Regions from separate parts of the Homo sapiens genome. Here region 2 is linked to region 1. The links are contacts of gene promoters, found by promoter capture Hi-C in blood cells and fetal thymus (Javierre and others, 2016). All regions are on one chromosome and are shown on one strand. Each heading gives the region's core, a stretch centred on a gene start or on the middle of the fragment in contact. The rest is flanking DNA. Distances are from core to core; before and after follow the strand shown.

Region 1 (5,367 bases), core at 1,235-3,734:
AGTTTCCTCTCATAAGTTACTAAGGAATTTCCAACTGAAACCAGAAAGAGCTTCCATTTTATACTGACAAGACTGGCAAAAATGTCAATCAGATAATAAAAATATTACTAAGGACGGGATCAATGAGGACTCATATGGTACTTGTATAAACTGGTCCAGTCACTTTGTGAAATACTTGGAAATATTTCATAAAGTAGATGTTTGTTCATACCTAGCAATCCCATCCCAACTTACAAAAGCTGGAGAAACTCCTGTACCTGTGTACCAAAAGGCGTGTTCAAAACAGGTTCATAGCATCAGAATTTGTAATAGTAAAAAATACTCCAAATATGCTATTTATAAGAACAAACAACATCCCAAATGTCCATCAACAAAGAATGACTAAATTATTTATAGTATATCTATAGAATGGAGTACCATATAGTAGGGGAAAGGAATGAATCATCATTTAATATATCAACATGGCTTAATCTCACATGACTTCATACAAAAAAAATGCAAGTTGCAAAAGAATGCATCTAGTTTGATGACATTAATATAAAAGACAACAGCAAACAAAACAATATATTACTTAGGGATACATATATATGTAATTTAAACTCTTTAAAAAAGCAGGACAAACACATAAATACCCAAGGGAAGATAGAAAAGGGATGTGAATGAGGTGTGATTCACAGGGGCCTTTGAGAGTATTCCATCATATTCTGTTTCTTAAGGTAAGTGCTGGGTACCTGTAAATATTCATATTTTTTATATGTTGTATATATACATATATATACTTTTGAAGTACAAAGTATTTCACTAAAAGGTCTTTAAAACAAAAAAGGGAGATTATAGTAAACACTCCCACAACCAAAAAAAGGGGGCCCTATAAGGTATCTTGGGGGTCATCCATTTCATCCATCTTAGCAGGACAACTAAATCTTTCAGAACTGAAAGGTGGGTGAGAAAACCTCTCAGACGTCAATACAGAGCATCATCTTTTGGGGAACATTCAGTTGGCATTTTTATTCAACTGTCATCCGCAGAATCCACTGATCCACAGCGCTCTGATTTAGGTTGCACATGGGAAACACTCCACCAGGAGGTGGCAGCCTTTTAAAGAGCGGCTCCAGGGCACCTGCATGTCCTCACAGTGGATTTGGGCCAGCACAGGTATTAACTTGCTGCCCTCTCTCAACTGAAAAAGCCAGGCACCAGCCTTTAGGGCAGTAACAACTTTGGCAACAGAAACTGGCTTTGGTAGGATGCTGCCACTCATTAGTTATTAGACATCCAGTGTTTGGATGCCTAGTGGAAAAGAAAAAGGAAAAATAACATAAAAAGCATAAAAAACATAAACTAAACTTAAAGACATTTTGCTTTCAGAATAAGCTAAGTCATGCACCATTCTCAGGAAGACAAACTCACCCTCCTACATTGTCTGTCCAGGCTGCTACAACAAAAGTACCATAAACTGATGGCTTGTAAACCACAAACATTTATTTTTCACAGTTCTGCAGGCTGTGAAGTCCCAGATCAAAGGGCTGGCAGTATCTGATGAGGGCACAGATGGTGCCTTCTCACTGCATCTTCACATGGTGGAAAGGGCAAACCAGCCCCTTTGGGCCTCTTTAATAAGGGCACTGATCCCATTCACAAGGACTCCACCCTTATGATCTAAGTACCTCCCAAAGGCCCCTCCTTGGGGGTTAGGATTTCAACATATGAATTTGAGGGAGACATAAACATTCCGACCATAGCACTCCTCCAAACAGAATAGCAATCAGATTGAAAATGGAGTGGAAGGAAATGGCAGAAAGTCATTTTTGTCAGGGGGCGTGCTGTTGACCAGAAATCAATCTCCTCCCAGACCAGACGAGAGAAGTGCAGTCAGCAGATGATGCAGATGACCCAGAGACAGGGTGGAGTGAGCTGTTCTCAGGGGTTCGGGCACTTCTTGGTGGAGGTGGGATAACAAAGGGGAGGCGGTGTTCTCATCCCTTCCACACCAATTCCCCAGTTTTATTTAAAGTAGTCCACCTGTCAACTGAAAATTCAACCTGTCGATGCCAGATTTATACCTGGATGCATGTTCTCTCAAGCCACCTGCATGCAGCGTATCTGTGTGCCAGATGTCTTCACACAAAAGGCCCTTGAGGACAGCTCCTTCCTCTTGTCTCTATCTTTGTACAGCAAGCAGTCCCCCTTATCTGTATTTTTGCTTTCTGCAATTTCATTTACCCTCGATCAACCACAGTCCAAAAATATTAAATGGGAAATTCCAGAAATAAACAATTCATAAGTTCTGAGTAGCACGATGAAATAGCACACTGCCCTGCTCCATCCTGCCTGGGATATGAATCATCCCTCTGTCTGGCATATCCGTGCTCCATATGCTCCCTGCCCCATGGTCTGCAGCCGTCTCAGTTGTCAGATTCACTGTCATGGTATCGAAGTGCTTATGTTCCAGTAACCATTATCTGACTTCATAATGGCCCCACAGTGCAAGAGCAGTGATTCTGGGATTCAGATATGCCAAAGAGAAGCCATGAAGTGCATCTTTTAAATTAAAAGGTGAAAGTTCTCAACTGAATTAAGGAAAGAAAAAAATCATATGCTGAGGTTGCTAAGATCTATGGCAAGAATGAATCTTCTATCTGTGAAACTGTGAAGAAGGAAAATGAAATTTATGCTAGTTCTGCTGCATATATAGGGTTCAGTATTATCTGCAGTTTCAGGTATCCACTGGGAATCTTGGAACACATCCCCTGCGGAGAGGGAACTACTGTATCTATCTCTCTCGGCCCCTCTCTCTCTTTCTCTTTCTCCCCTCTGTCCTTTCCCTCACTCTTCATTTCTATCTCTGCCTCTCTCACATATTCAGAATTGTTAGATTCCAGAAGAAGAAATCCATTTGGTAGTAAAAGAATTATACAGCACATACATAAAGCAAGCTGGCTTTTGTCTTCAGTAGTTTGGTCTCTCTCCTTCCAGGCTGTTCTTCCTTGCCCTGTGCACCTTATTAACACATTCTCAACAAGGTTAAGATTCTCTTCATCTTTATCCTATGATTTCCTATCTGAAAAATCACCTTCAGTGACTCTCCACTGCCTACAACATAAATTCTAGGCTTCTTGGTCAAGAATTCAAGGTTCTCAATTAAAACAGCTCCTTTTTTCCTCCTTCTTCCCCCATCACCATGATTTATTGAATTCTACTCCATCTCCTCTTCTTATCAGGTACTATTGGGTGCTTAACATGATATATTTCTAAACTTTTCAATAATCTTACAAGGTAAGTATGACTAATCCATTTTATACATAAGAAAACTGAGTTAAGAGTAGTTAAGTAATTTACCTAAAATTGAAGACTTTATAACTGGCTGAGCTAAACTCAAATCCAAGGTCTGTCTGGTGACTGCTCTCCTAATCGCCTATTGCAGAAGAAGCCACTGTGGAGGTAGAAAGATCCTAGAATTTGAGAAAATTACCATATGTTGATCATTCTTAGTGTGCCAGGAGCTTTTCATACATCGCTTAAGTTAATCCTCACAAAATACTATAAAATTGGTGTTATTACTTCCATTTTACCAAGTGGAGATATAGACACAGAGAGATTAAATAACTTGCTCAAGGCAGACAGATGGGGAATGGCAGGGCTAGATTTTATCCTTGGTCTCTCTTTTGACTACATCATGCTACTTAATCTGAATCCTAATTATGTTTTCAGGTTTTTGTTGTTTTTTAAAAAATACTCTTTAAAAGCTATATAATAGCCAAACTGGCCTGCCAGTTGTCTCCTGAATGCATCTTGTATTTTCTTACCCTAGGATTTTGGTTAATGCTTTTTCCCATTGTCATCTTTTTCCCACTCCTATCTCCTTACACACAGCCTACCTATTCTCCCAGAGGGCATGCATTCTATGGAGACAGAGCTGAATGTGTGCCATCAGAAGACCAAAATCAAGCGACATTTTAAAAAGAAAACAGACTCTTCTGGGAAAAATGGTGACTCCACAAAGTAAGAAGCCACCAAGACTTGTAGGACATTCCTTCATCTTCTCCTGGATGGGGCAACCCAGCCATGGATATATGCCTCCAATCAGCATAAATGCCCATTGCTTGATAAAGTCAACACACGTGTAAGATGGTATGTAGATCTTCTGGGCTCCTGGCCTTAGACTCTTGCCCTTGTGTTTACCAACTCGATTGTAAATCCTTTGAGGGCAGAAACCATATTTTAGATTTCTTCATATCCTTTCCCTTCCTCCATGTCACTAACACTTCATGTACTCAACAAAGGTCAACACCTTTGAGAGGAGTGACAGGAGACACTCCCACAGTGCTGAACTATGTCCTGCCCTTGCTCAACATGGTGGGACTCTGCCTCCCAATCCAAAGACCCCGAAAACTGCCACCAATCCTGTCCTTTTCCCCCAAATGAAGCTAGAAGTAAGAATGGAAAGAGATCTAAACACCATCCAGCCCAATCTTGTCATTTCACAAGCATGGAAACCGAGGCCACAGAAAAGAATTGACTTAAAATCAAGATCATGCATCCCATTAGAGGAAGCTCTAACTCTAGAATCAGATAATATGACTCTAGTTCAATGTCCATAAGACTCTATTGCACAATTTTTTTTGGCATCAAGTATCTAAAGATAGTTCAGTCAGAAGAACCTGGAACCTAGAGAAGCCAAGGGTTAGAGTGTAGGTGGCTGAGATCTCTTACTGCCCCTCCATCTGCTCTAGGAAATTCTGTTTCTTGAAGGGAACTCCTCAGAGAAAAGGACCACAAGCAAATTGCTGCTGCTACAAAATGATACCATAATGAGAATGGAAATAATCCTGGATTCTCTGCTCATTTCGACAAGTAAAATAAGGCACATATTTTTCAATGGATAATGTTCTTTGGTCTCTGTAAAAATTGTTTCCGTTTTGACACTTTTTGTAACCTATTTCTTTGAAACCTGAGTTCACTCAGTTTGGGGAAACATAGGGTACGGAAGAAGAAGGGGAAAAGGAATATGGAATCACAAGGATTTAGAGTCAAAGTAATTTTAACTTTCATAGAGAGACCGCAGGGATCAGCTAACACAACAAGCCCATTTTACAGAGGAGTCAACTAAGGCTCAAAGAATCCATGAGACTCGCCCAGAGAAGCAGCTCATTAGTGGCAGAGTTGATCTAGAATTCTGGGCTCCTGCTGCTGCAACCCAGTCCTCTTTGCAGCATCCCAAACTCCCTCTCTCATAATAATCCAGGATAATAGTCATTTCCCATTTTTAATAAGAAGGAAATGAGCACAGAGAGAACCAGTCACAGCATGATGGAAGAAACCTGGAACTAAAGCCTCACTACTTCTCTTTCCTGACTGCCCCGCCAC
Region 2 (5,099 bases), core at 1,730-4,229, 520 kb before region 1:
AAGAGGCAGAGGTTGCAATGAGCTGAGATCAAGCCACTGCACTCCAGCCTGGGTAACACAGCAACAGTCTGTTCCCCACCACACCCCCCAAAAAAGAATGAAAAATAAATTTGTGCTCCCCTAATAATTGGCTTTCAGGAATTTTGTATTTCATCCCCACGATATTCCCTCCTTCCATGAAGCCTTGGAGTCCTCCATGTTGCAAACACCTGGCCCCACTGTCTTGTCTCCAGCAAAGCCTGCAGGGACTGGCCTCTGCAGTGTTCTTTGAAGCAAGAGTTCTCAACTATGCCTGTATCCATGTGCATACAACTGGGTGCAGAATCAGACCAGACATAGAAAACCAAGCCCTTCTTTGGCTCCAAATCCCCCTCCAGTTATTTATCTTCCCTCTTCCCATTAAAGCCAATAGTCTTGAAAGCTTTGCTTCCACTTCCTCATTTCCCCATTACACCTGTACCTCTGCAATCTCCTTCCACAACCCACCATACCACTGAAATTGGCAGAACCTTGATCACCCTCTGAACAGGGACATTTCCCACACCTTTCCCTGAGCCCAGTAGATGGCGCCACCCACCCCTCCAGCTCAAGCCACACAAACCAGCACTCCTCTGACTGCTAAACTAGCAATCTTCACATTACAAATCCAATGTGGGAGGTAAGAGAACAAGTTCTACATGTTCTATTGAAACTGAAGTTGATGATCGATTCTCATCAACTATATGTCCTAAACATCTTCCAAATGGATGCAAGTCTCTGCTTTTGTAAAAGCTCTCTGGACAACTGTTATAATAATGTCCTTCTGCCATTCGAGACTATGCACTAATTTAAAGAAACAAGTTTATGAAAATCAGTTCCCACCTCATGTGCAGATATTCTCTGCAAAAGTAGATTTAAAGGTCAAGTTTTAGAACATATTCTTGTAACATCTGAACTCCTAACACCCATGCTGGATTTGTCGTTTCAAAATTACTAGCTTAGCACAGTCAAAGTCTGTGAAGTAGTCCAGAAATCCCACTTGAACTTTCTTCAAGGTGAATATAGCAATGCGATGATATGGAAGCTTCTTCTTACCTGTGCTAATGACTGTGCTTGTGGTATTGGGACCTACATTCTTCCACTGGAAATCACCGAGCACATCCTGGGTATGGTCACACCAGTCCACAACATAGCCTATAACATCTCCAGGTTGGGGTTTCCAAGACAGAGAGAATCCACCCTCTGTGCCTGCAATTCTTTCTTCCTCAACCTCTTCTGTATATAAACAAATAGAGCAATGCTCCAGATTTAATTAACTGTAAATTGTTTTAAGTGTGTAAGGTAGAAAGTAAATACATACATGCACTGTATCTAGTAGGTAACAGACCTCCACTTCAATAGTTACAGGTGCTTGGGTGGGGGATGTTTTCATGGGTGAGTTCTTGTCTCTTACTTCCCAGCGAATATTCACACCTGCCCTTCAGATGCCCATCATGTTGACCTTCTGAAGCCCAACCAGACTTCAGCACCTAGGACAGGGGTCAGCAAACTACCACCAGGAGGATGATTCCAGCCTCTGAGGGTTGTTTTCATATGACCCTTGAGCTAAGAATGGTTCTAAGACATTTTAAGGGTTGTAAAAATAAAAATAAACCAACAAAGAAGGCATATAATAAAATATGTAATGGAGACTATATGACCTGCAAAAATGTTTGCTATCTGCCCCTTTACCACAAAATTTTTTGATCCTTAATCTAGAATCTGGTATTGGGTACTGGATCTGCTTCAAAAAATACCTGTTGAATGAATAACTAATGCAGGCTAATTCTCCCACGGTAACATCAGTTGCTCCTGAACTAAATACTGCTTCTGAGATGTGTTACAGGTAGGAATTGAGTAGAAGACAAAAAAGAAGAAAATATTCAGGTATATAAAAAGTTGGGTTATATAAAGATATGCACACAGTTTATGACTAATACTGCCATGTCAATATATTTTATATGTTAAAGTAGGTTTCCTGATGTCTGACAATTGGAAAAAGGATAACATGGCCTCAGGGGACTACCAGTTCTACTGAGTTCCAACAGGGATATACCTTAACCTTGAGGCATGAGAATTTCTCCTCTTTCCACAGACTTACACTAAGAACTGGTTTATTGTTTGTCTGTAATTCACATTTAACTGGGCATCCTGTATTTTACCTGGCAATCCTAATTACAACTGAATACTGGTGTGAAAACCACTGATTCATTTTTATAGGGCATCAAAATATCATCCAGCTAGGGGCACCCAAAGGAATGTGTAGCCCTAGGTATAAGCTAAAAGCCCATGAGGGCTTTATAGATCCCATCCACATGGCTTCCCTGCCTTCCTCCATCAAGCAGACAAATGCCCCTCACATATTAAGGCCGACATTTTTCACTTGACTTATTGATACTTAGTAAAATTTAACTCCAAACCCAGGGTTGAAACTCTTAGAAAGCTGTTTCTTTAAATTGAAAATATGTTTTGAGAGATGGAGGTAGATCAAAGAGTAGGGGAATCTTTTTGTCAGTCATTTACACCCTAGTGTGAACTGGCTTAACCTTACTGGTTTTCTCATAGTACATGAGTGACTTTATACATGCTGGTGATGTAGAAACAAGAAACACTTAAGGATAGCTAGCTGGAGCCTCTCACCAGAAGGTCTAGGCATCTGAAGGCAGGGCACGGGGATGGAGGGTGTGGTAGGAGACCCCAAAATACATAATTGCTCTCAGCAGTGTTGCTTTGAACTGGTCTCTCCCTTCCTCAGAAGAGGCCAGTACCAGCTCCCCGAGGCTGAATGAAATGCCCCCTTTTCCTGTTCGGATCCTAATGAAGTCAGAATATAACTTCTTTCTCTAATATAGTTCTTCAGAAAGCAGAGGTTACACTAAACAACTCCTAAACCAACTTAGGTTGGTTTTTCTTCTATGGCACAATATAGTTTCTTTTCCTCATGTGATATATACTGGGTAGTTCTTTTAAAAACATAAAAATAAAACAAAACAACAACATCCTCTAATCCAACTCAACCCAAATTTAAGCTGAACTTGAATAAACACATATTATAGAACCTACAAGGGTCTGGAAATTTTAATAGCAGGAACTGAAGGGTAATATTATTGCAAGGTTCATGAATGATCCCAGGATGCCACTTGCCAACTACATTATGTATGCCCATGTATGTATCATCTCATAGCATGTAACTGTGGGGTTGACTCTTTTTATGGCTAAGAAGGAAATTAATATCACTATTGATTTGGCATGTAAGGGCATTCCACCTTGTTTGCTCTTTCATAGGCAAGAGATTAGCCAGTTATTATCTTTTATTCTACAAAGTTGGCAGAGTCTGTGGTGAAAGTTGATGCCAGTTCTGATGATCTCTGGAAATGTTCATGGACTCTTTCCAGGTGCAAAGACTGACAACACTTTTTACAAAATAGTAAATGCAATTCCTATTTCACAAGCCACAAAGATCATAAATAGTAACTCCAACTCTCAGTGGTGACTGTTTGTTAGGGTTGCAGTTACTTGAATAAATTTGAGATAATTTCCCATGTATGTTGAAGAATCCCCTGGACAGAAATGTCCTGAGCCATGGCTGAAGTCTCCTTCTCCCCACACTGAGGGGACTGTCCCACTGAAACACGTTGACACACCTGGCCCAAAAGAAAATGACTGTTTAGTGACTAGACATTTTGTCTTCCTAAGTTATTGTTTTCTCAATTTATCCATCACTACTTAATAACGTCATCAACATTTTCCTAGAGAATAAAAACAAAAGAAAATGAAAACAAACTCACTGTTTTCGGGGTCTGCAGAGATGACTATTACAGAAGCAGGAGAAGCACCCACACTGTTGTTGGCTATGACGCAGATTTGGTAGGAACACCTGTCAAGGATTAGTTTTGTGCTGTTGGCTGGTGCTGGAATGGAATGGAGCTCTGAACTGGATGGTTTGTCTAGGTTTTCTACAACTACATTATAGAACAGGATCTTTCCATTGGCATGCAGTTTTGATAATGGCTGAAAAAAATATTGATAAACATTTTTAAATGGGTTTTAATTGAAAGGAATTTGTACAACTCCTTTTTCATCTTTTCTGTCCCTCAACTCCTTTATATACGCACACACCAGAAAATTCAAACAGCTTAATAGAGAAAATAACTCTCTCAACCAACTCTGAAATCAGACATTCAAATCTAACTGAAGGTGAGTAGAGAAGAGGATCATTTGGAGATAAGAGCCTCAAGAGCATTATGTGCCCTGAGAAGAGTGCTCAGGTCAGAATCACAAGGAATAGACTCTTTAACCTGGTGGAAAAAAGAATGTGAGGGGTAGTCAAGGGCAGAAAAGCAATGAGTACAAACAGCACCACCCTGGGACCCTGCAGGAGGAGCCTGGGTACTGGCCTCATTCCACCTCCAGCCATGTTACCCCTATGCAGCCGTACAGGGATTAGCTGCTCTCCATACCCAGAGCCCTCCTCTGGAAGATCCTCAGTTTGCAGAGAAATTCTTGCCCACACAGTCCCAAGCCCACTTCTGGGGTCTGTTCCTCAGGCCTCCCCTCCCCTGGCATGTGTACCACCAGCCCTGAGAGTGGGCTTGGAGTGGCTATCTGCTTGGGGTGTGGACAGAACCCAGACATGCAGACTGGCATGCCCACACGTCTGTGCACAGAGATTCTTGCGGAGTGTGCCAAACTAAAGGTGAAAAAAAAAGTGGGGTAGGTTGAGACCAGAGCCAACTCTCCCAGGATCACCATGTTTCAGTGTGAAACTGACGCATCACAGAGTTCAGAATACAAACCTGGCCTTCCAGGTTGTCATGAAGGTGTATTAGTCAAGATAGAAGGATAAAATTTATTTTATATTACAATTTTTAAGCTTGATTTATAATTTTTAAATATAAATAGTATGACTATTTAAATATGTGTAACTTTTAACTATCATATGTGGTTGTTTACTTACATCTTTGCCCTGGGCCCTGCAAAAGTCAAGCCTGGCCTGAGTTGAAGTTGCAGAGAAGGTTCTACCAATCAGAACTGGCTGTCAGTTGCATCAGCTATCAAAGGAGTGGAGTGGGATTCCTCTA

What was found. The method cuts DNA at HindIII sites, captures the fragments that hold promoters and counts their contacts. A CHiCAGO score of 5 or more calls a contact.
Region 2: a contact is called between a fragment that was not itself captured here and the fragment with the promoter of EGFLAM-AS2 in region 1, in 4 of 17 cell types (M1 macrophages, M0 macrophages, M2 macrophages and 1 more). The highest score is 7.5, in M1 macrophages.

The regions. Positions count from the first base shown.
Region 1 is chr5:38,400,588-38,405,954 of GRCh38, reverse strand. EGFLAM-AS2 (EGFLAM antisense RNA 2) reads left to right here and starts at 2,484. Exons shown (of 3, transcript NR_102750.1): 1 at 2,484-2,556; 2 at 3,874-4,131. The region is part of intron 6 of EGFLAM (EGF like, fibronectin type III and laminin G domains); the gene reads right to left. The HindIII fragment of the contact is 8,755 bases long and covers 1-5,367 here.
Region 2 is chr5:38,917,770-38,922,868 of GRCh38, reverse strand. It overlaps OSMR (oncostatin M receptor), which reads right to left. Exons shown (of 18, transcript NM_003999.3): 11 at 3,807-4,029; 12 at 1,075-1,254. Among named protein-coding and RNA genes, the nearest start is that of OSMR, 74 kb to the right of the region's middle. The HindIII fragment of the contact is 3,828 bases long and covers 1,066-4,893 here.